2 separate regions of the Homo sapiens genome follow, and region 1 is linked to region 2. The links are contacts of gene promoters, found by promoter capture Hi-C in human tissues and cell types (Jung and others, 2019). All regions are on one chromosome and are shown on one strand. Each heading gives the region's core, a stretch centred on a gene start or on the middle of the fragment in contact. The rest is flanking DNA. Distances are from core to core; before and after follow the strand shown.

Evidence for each region. Contacts are between HindIII fragments. The study calls those that stand out against the background at their distance.
Region 1: a fragment that was not itself captured here is called in contact with the fragment with the promoter of M6PR in region 2 in 1 of the 25 tissues and cell types used here (lymphoblastoid cells).

What each region holds. Positions count from the first base shown.
Region 1 is chr12:9,254,073-9,258,226 of GRCh38, reverse strand. It overlaps LINC00987 (long intergenic non-protein coding RNA 987), which reads right to left. Exons shown (of 7, transcript NR_137434.2): 5 at 2,535-2,668; 6 at 236-304. It also overlaps the pseudogene A2MP1. Among named protein-coding and RNA genes, the nearest start is that of LINC00987, 16 kb to the right of the region's middle. The HindIII fragment of the contact is 4,482 bases long and covers 125-4,154 here.
Region 2 is chr12:8,947,501-8,951,575 of GRCh38, reverse strand. It overlaps M6PR (mannose-6-phosphate receptor, cation dependent), which reads left to right and starts at 1,931. Exons shown (of 7, transcript NM_002355.4): 1 at 1,931-2,088. It also overlaps a transcript of KLRG1 not described here. RefSeq lists enhancers at 1,229-1,358, 857-1,761, 1,762-2,667 and a silencer at 1,337-1,551. The HindIII fragment of the contact is 13,158 bases long and covers 1-4,075 here.

The sequences.
Region 1 (4,154 bases), core at 1,116-3,615, 310 kb before region 2:
GTGCCCGGCCTAAGATACCTTTTTAATTAATCACGAATTTAAGTTTGATTTCAAAATATTAATGTTTGTTTGTAATTTTTTGAGTTCCAGATTAGCCTCTTAATAAATTTCCTGTAACTCTACTTCTAGATGAAAACCTTTTTTTCATAGACTTTCTCCCAGTCTTTTTGAGCCAGAAAGAGGCTTCTAAGGTCATGATAAGGATGCAGTACCCACACTCTAAAACGCCACTCACCATAGGTTCTTCTTCGGTCTGTAACATCTCTTAGGTCTATATAATCTCTTACTGATTGTTTTCTTTCTGCTTGAAATAAAGCACAAAATTTGAATACGTTCATTCAAATATGAAACATCGACTCTAAATTTCCATTTAATCCCTGATTTTATGTTATTGGACATTGTATTGATTTTTTTAGAGCAGGTAAGGTTGTCTCTAATAACATATGAAAAAGTCACTGCCTCACAAAGCAGTATCTTCAAAGTTTGTTTCTGCAGTAGAGTTTAAATCCTGTATGGATTGGGTCCTAAGGTGGTGGGATGGGAAGAAGAAGTGTCCCTCTCTTTAAGAAAAAATATACTTCATTTTATTTAATGACAGCTATGTAAATGATTGTTTTGACTTTGTCTTTGACATTTCGGAAACTCAGTGAAAAACTTAAGTACTCTAGTGTAATAACCATTTCATTGCAGCTTCCTAATAAAATTAACTCCTATGTTTAACCCTGCTTCAGAATTCCACATTCATTTGGCTTTCGTCTTACTGTTTCAAATTATTTTGACTCTGCTGTTTCTCTGTATTTTCATGAAAGCTGCCCTCAAATCTTTTATAGATACAGGAAGGGTACAATTTTTAAAGAATAATTTTATGCTACAAAGATCAAACTTAGAACATTTATGAAAATAATCAAGTGGAATGTTACATAAGCTCTATGTAGTTCACACAGAGGACAACCACTGAGATGAACACACAGAATTCTATTATAAAAATCAAAGGCTCACAAGGCTTTTTATGTGATTTGTATCTGTATCCCTGCTGTATTATAAATGGCCTGAAGGAAAAGACTGTTGCATTGTTTATATTGCCCTTACACACACAAGAATTATAACCAAACATGTCTAGAAGTTCTCTTTCTTCTCTCTTGACTCCTTTCTCAATAATATTTTTCAATTTAGAAATAGAGACAAGCATTAAATGTCTTTTTCCTACTTAAACAGAGGAAATGAACAATTAAACCTATATCTTTAAGGGAAAATGTCATTAGCTCAGCATATATTTATTGAACACTACTACCTGCACAGTGGTATAAAGTCTTTTCTTACTTCAGTGTGATCCAAATGTAAATAAAGTCTATAGTTGGAAATGCCTTTTTAAAAAATCAAATTGATAATTCTGTTGCTAATGTGTTATTCTGAACTTGTTCTTCTTTTTAAATTCTCCAGTGAAAGGGGTGTTTTCCTTCTCCTTTCGAGTGGAATCAGACTCTGCTCCTAGTGCTCATCTGCTTGTTTACACTGTTTTACCTAATGGAGAAATTGTTGCAGACACTGACAAGCTTGAGATTGAAAACTGTTTTGCCAACAAGGTGGGTTGTTTTGTTTAAGACTAGTCCTTTTATTCTTCTCCCATTGTGATGTGTGGAAAAGAAGGAAATTAGGAAATTAGGCATACAGTGCTCCTAAAACATTCCTCCCAGCTACTTCTAAAGGCAGGGGGTGATGTCATACTGAGAGGTCTAGTGCTGACATCCAAAACAGGCAACCACAAACACAGTTTTTTAAAAGTCTCTTGTTTTGTTATAAAATTCATATGAATTTCAAAATCAAGTCACCTATAAGCCTTTAATAGTTTTAATTTTAAAATGTTTTGTTACTAATATTTTGATTAAAAATGATGCCTCACAAGGCTGTGCCAATTTTACCCCATCATACACTGGCACACTTCCATGTACCACTACAGACAGCAGTAGGTTGTCATGAGTTTAAACTCAGCTTAATAATACAGAACAGATGAGAAACAGCCTGGACACTTTAAAAATAATGATAGCACAAAAATTTAACATAGGTTCAGATGGCATATTTTTTATTTAAGGAATACAAAGCTGCCATGTGAAGCTCACTGAGATATAAGTATGCTTTATTCCAACAGAACTTGGTGCTGTTTATCTGATTTTCACTACTCTAGCAGCATAATCATAACATTAGCGATCAGATAAGAGCCGCCTACTTCAGATGCCTGTTTTCAAATACACCTGGAAGGATTTTTTTTTTAACATGGGCTTTGTGGAGATTAAAACAAAATGTGTTTATAGCAAGTGAACATTTCTGCCCTGAGATCTATATTTAGGTTGTCTTGTTTTAAATATACAGTGAAATAAGAAAAATACACAGTGTATTCTGATGTAAACCTTTAATTCCACCTTACTAAAGAGTGCTATTAAACCTGGATGGTGTGTCCAAGAAGCTTAGTGTCTGTTCTGTTTGGACTTCTGTGTGTTTCATACCCACTGAGAAGAGACTCCTTCATGCTTCAATACCTTTACTGTTAATGATGGGTAGTTAGTTTGTTGTTAAATCTTGGGAATGGCCAAGTTATGCTCCGGCTTTCAGCACATCTTATTCGTTCTAGCAGTGGGGTCTCTTTCTGGTGGGTCAGTATCCTCTTCACACCCTAGAAATGAGAGAAGCATTATAAAACAGAATTGGCAGAAAAGTAATTTTCTCCCTGGAATCCAGTCTGAAAAACAATTCTGATTTTGCAAAACATATGACAGTCCCTGTGCAACAGTATAAAACTTCACCATAGAAGTAAAAGCCCACGGACATTATATTCAATCACTTCACGTTAAATACCTTTAAAATCATCATTGATCAGAATTGAAGATCAGCTGTAAAAAATAATATGAACAAAGATTCATAAGAAGATTCAGAAGAAAGTTGACTACCACAAAAATTAGAAAAACAGTAGATCTATTAAAATTACAAATTAAGCACCCTAAAAGTTAGACATCTTGGTGGGATGATGAGCAAATAAATAGTGCACTGAGGATGTGAGGAAAGACCCCAAGTCAGACATGCATCCCTGCAAAACGATACATTTAAATTTTTTTCAATCTTTGCTGAGACAGAGAAAAATAGTTTTCTATTCAAACTTCATATACTTATTTCTTCACTTACAACAGATTTGGCATACACATTAAAAATTATGTAATAGTTGGAATCATTTGTTATACTCAACCAGATATAATTATTCATTAAGAATAACATTGGTAGTAATTAATATAATATATGAGGTACAGACTCCTTTGAAATATGCCTTAAAGTTATGTTTTGGTTTTCATATCAGTAAAACATTTTCTATTTTCTAACATGTCCACTTCTTGCTAATAGTGTTTTTAGTTTATTATAATCCCAAATTACCTGTTCTTTTGACATGGACAGTAACTAACATATTTTAATGAACTTAAATTTTCTAAAAATAAAAGCAAATATATTTTAAAGAGATTCTCCATAAGCAATGTTTTCATAGTATATTGAGTTAGAAAGATGAATACTATTGCATCTTGAAGATAAATAATTATTGATTTTTTTCATATATGTCTTATGATAAGTGATTCCAAACTGCTATATTAAATTCAGTAGACCATAAAGCTGGATTGTCATAGTGAAATTTAGCAACCTAAGTCAGATGTTATTTAGCTAAACATACTGATATTTCATTCCAATAAAAATCAGTTTTCAGTCCAAGAATCAAGGAAGTTACCTGATGCTACTACTATATAACTCAGATACTACTCAAGAAATGTCGGTATCAACAGAAGGAACTAATAGATTATCTTGCCAATTAATTTTTTTGGCCAAAGTAGAAGCAAATCTTTGGGAAGATTCTGCACAATTTCCTGTTGTTCTTTATTCACCATTTTTTAAATTGTCTGAACCAATGAACTCTTAGGCTGTATATTAGATATTTATTTTTTTTAAATGGACCAGTAAATCTCCAATCATGATGAACAGTTCCACACTGCTTTAGAATTTCAGGTGACTGAGACTGCCAACTGGAGGAGACTTCTGTTGGCTGGTCTCAGGGGTGGAATGTGATTTTCACATCACCGTGCAAACTGCACACAGTCTTCACATAAACACTGCACAGAGATAGG
Region 2 (4,075 bases), core at 682-3,181:
ATGTCATTGGTTAAGTAGCAATGCATAGAACTAAATATTATGCTATTAAAAAGTTTATTTGTAAAGTCAAGGATATGGAAAAATATTTGATACATACATATCTTTTTGAGATAGGTTCTCACTCTATCACCAAGGCTGGAGGGTAGTGGCAAGACCATAGCTCACTGCAGCCTCCAACTCCCAGGCTCAAGCAATCTTCCAGCCTCAGGCTCCCAAGCAGCTGGGACTACAGGTGTGCACCACCAAGCCCAGCTGATTTTTTTTTTTGAAAGAAGGGGTCTCACTATGTTGCCCAGGCTAGTCTTGAATTCCTGACCTCAAGTGATCCTTCTGCCCCGGAATCCCAAAGTGCTGGGATTACGGGCATGAGCCACAGTGTGGGACTGATACATTTTTGAAAAAAGGAAACAACATATATTCATGAAGGAAATACACACCCTCCTGGTGAGTTTATGTATGATTTTTGTTTTGTTGTTTTCTGTGTTATCTGATCACAAATTACTTTCATTTTCAGGAAGAAAAAAATTTAATTTTTTTTTTTATTGGGGCAACATCCAACCCAGATATGATTACTACCTAGCCTGAACTGAATGTATTACTAATAAACAAAGAAATGCAGAATGGCATACAGTCGGTAAAGCGTAGTGCTTGAGAGCATGGATTATGGAGACTATTTAAATACTGGCTCCATAACTTAATAGCTTGGGACCCACGGTGTTACTTAGCTTCTATCTGCTTTAATTTACTCATCTGTAAACTTGGGATAAGATACTTCCTCATAAGGTTGGTGTGAAGACCAAGTGAATTAACTATCGTTTAAAGCACTTACAAAAGTGCCGGGCACCACCGAGATATGCATCCGTTAGCTTTTATTATTATTAGACTCAAAACACTGTAGTAGTTCTAATGAGAGGGGTAAGAATCAAAAATCCAGGCACCTGCATAGAGCCAGAGAGGCACACATAGAAGCAACGTAAGAGTGGAAGCGGAATGAAAACATGCTAAAGCCAGGTACAAGCCACAAGCGAGGGTCCACAGGAAGAAATTGTTAATTCTGAAGAGAGTGAATGCACGAAGTTACAGGAAAAATAACATCTGAACAGAGTTTAAGAATGAGCAGGACTTCAACAAGTGGCTAGTAAGACATAAGGAACCTACAAAAGATCTTAGCAAAGGCGCAAAGATTACCATCGTATTGCTCGTTTCTTCCTACTTTGCAGAAGTAACCTCTGGCGAACAGAGGTGGTTGCAGAGCATGCTTATCAAGCAAAATACCACGAAGCAGTAAGGAACGACAGAGATAACAGTAACAATAATAATTCACCCCAAGGTACTCAACTGGAAAAAGGAAATACAGAGGAGAGGTGTCGTTAAGAAAGCCAGGACGCACATCACGGCCCCGTCGCTGCACTACTCTCGTCTAGGGGTCAACAGTGGAGTCGAGACTCGAAGCTTCCACGCGGCGGAACAGCGTCCCTCTCAGGCGGCGAACGGGCTAGGGAAGCGCCCGGAGGAGACCTAGCGTGAGAACTACAACTCCCGCGGAGCCCGAGGGCGAGCTGCCTGCGTAACTTCCGCTTCCGCCACCTGCCCCTCTCACCCTCTTCACTCGAACCCTACCCGGGAGCGGTCAGGCGCGTGACCCCGCGTGACCGGGGTGCGCGAGCCGAGAGGCCCTGGAAGCGGGACTCTGGGACCCCATTGAAAGAAAGGCAACCAGAAAAGGCGAAACGACAACCTCGATAGTGATTGGAGCTGATGGAACGAGGGCGGAGCTAAAGTCCCAGAATACTGGCCAATCAGAGTTTAAGATTATCAGGGAGCCCGGGAAGGGGAAAGGGGCGAAATGGTTCTATGGTCACATGCCGCGGGGTCTGGTGGGAGGAGCGGTTGCCCAGCGGCCTCTTGGCGCTTCCTGTTTCCGGTTCCCAGAGTGGGGCACAGCGAGGCGCTAGGGGGAACGCTGGCCTCTGAAACTAGCTCTGGGACCGGGGTCTGCGGCCGGCCCCTAGCTGGCCCCGTCTCCCATCCCCAGAAGGGTATTCACTGGGGATTCTGAGCTTTGGCTACTCCAGTTTCCCACGACACGTGAGTGTGAGGGGCGTGGAGGAGGAGGCGGGCTGGGTTGCGCTCACACTTAAGCGTCTGTGACAGGAGCCGGAATCGCATTCTCCCTTGACCATGGTTCTAGCCAAAGATCTGGCTGAGGAGCCCTAAGGGTAGAATGGAGGCGGAGGCATGAGAGCGGAGAGTCACGGAGTTCCGAAAGGTGTGAGGGAGAAAGGACTTCCAAGACCAGAGAGGGGATTTACGATATTTAGAAAGCAGGGAAAGGAAAATACCCCAAGTATGGAGTCCGTTGGAGGTGTTGGTGGATTTATTTGTAGGAGGAATTTTGGCCTGCATCACGGTGGGAGGTCAAGTGGCATCATTTGGAGAGGGTATGGCTACAAGCGCTTGGAAAGTCGGGACACTAGACAGAGCGAGAATTTCTGGCACCCTGGGAGAGCTTTGAGGGGGATGCGACTGTGGTGTGGATAAGAATGGCTGATGGACGGATTATCTTGTGTTCCTCGTTGTGGGGAGCTTCCGCTCTTGGGACATAGCCGCTACTTGTCTGAGGCTCCTTCTCTCTTGAGTTCTTTCAGCATTAGGCCTTTTAGCCAATTGAGGCTGCTTTTCTAAACATGTAGGCTGCTGGAGAAAAAGGGATAAGGACTGCTACATCAGAAAGGAGCCAGCGGGAAGACAGTAGAAATTCCACTGGTAAATGGCCATGGCTGTCTTAACAGATGGGGAAGTGAGTGCTACAGAGGCCCAGTGGTGTAAGCTGCTTCCCAGTTGCTGGCTTAGTCATTGGCCACCCTAATAAAGGATAATTTTTAGCATTGCCAAATAAAATAGATCTGTCGTTAGAGAATAAGAAAACTGAAAGATTTTTCAAGATCATAAAATCCTGCTCCTTATTTCCAAAGTATATAGACAAACTCTTGTACCTTGAGAATCTAATTGTAGCATATTAAAAGGGGGCTACTGGGCCCTTCCATTTCATTCTCTTCCTGATTGTTGCACCCCTATGTTTATAAGTTTTCCAGCAGTTATCTTTATGCCACGAATCGTCTAAATTGCCCCAGTAACTTCACACACATTTAATATCTGTGTAATGTACAGCAAGTAATTTAACAAGTAATTCTGTAAAGCATCAGTTTTCTCATCTGTGAAGTATGAAAAATTATACCTATTTTCTGGGTTGTGAAGATGAATGAACATAATCTAGGGAAAACATTTAGCGCATATGCCACTGAATTAAAGAGAAGCAGCTTAAATTTAAAGACAAGCCTTAAGCAGGAAAGAAGAATACAGTATAAATTTATTATCCTAACTTTTTGAATAATAAGCAAATGAAAGATAGTTCAACTCAGCTAATGGCTGAGGTGTTTAACCTTTCATCCCTTCCTAATTTTGTGAGATTCCTTGTTCTAATTTAGGAAAAGAAATCAACTGTCAGTTTTTAATTAGGTCCTGAGAGACTGGAAAGGAAAATGGCAGGCTAAGTCAGTCTAGAAGAAGGAGTCTCCTATTTCTTTTTAGTGAGTCAGCTGGTCAAGTTGTGTGTTGAGCAGTGGGTTAACTTAGGGAAGGTGGGAGTTGGAGGTCTGAGTTCTTTATTTCACCTCCTATTCAGTCAACTGTGTGAGGAATCACTTCCCCTTCACTTCTTAGTAGAAAAAAAAAAAAACCCACAGTTTTGGCTGTCTACTCTCATCTCCAAAAAATTGTTATGCACATAGTGGAAATATACATGTAGTTGTTCAACACAGACCATGAGCTCTGGAGCTAGACTCTCTGGCTCACTCCACTAGCTGTGTCTCAGTTTTCTTACTGGTAAAATAGCAACAATAATTGTATTTACTCATAAGGTTGTGAGGATTAATTAGTTAATTAATATATGTTAAGTGCTTTGAACAGCACCTGGCCCAAGGCAGTAGTCTGTTGTTTCCTGCTGTTGTGTGGTTTCAGTGCATTAAATGTGTTATGAGGGCCTTGGACCTCTTGGTTAGCTATGATTATTCTA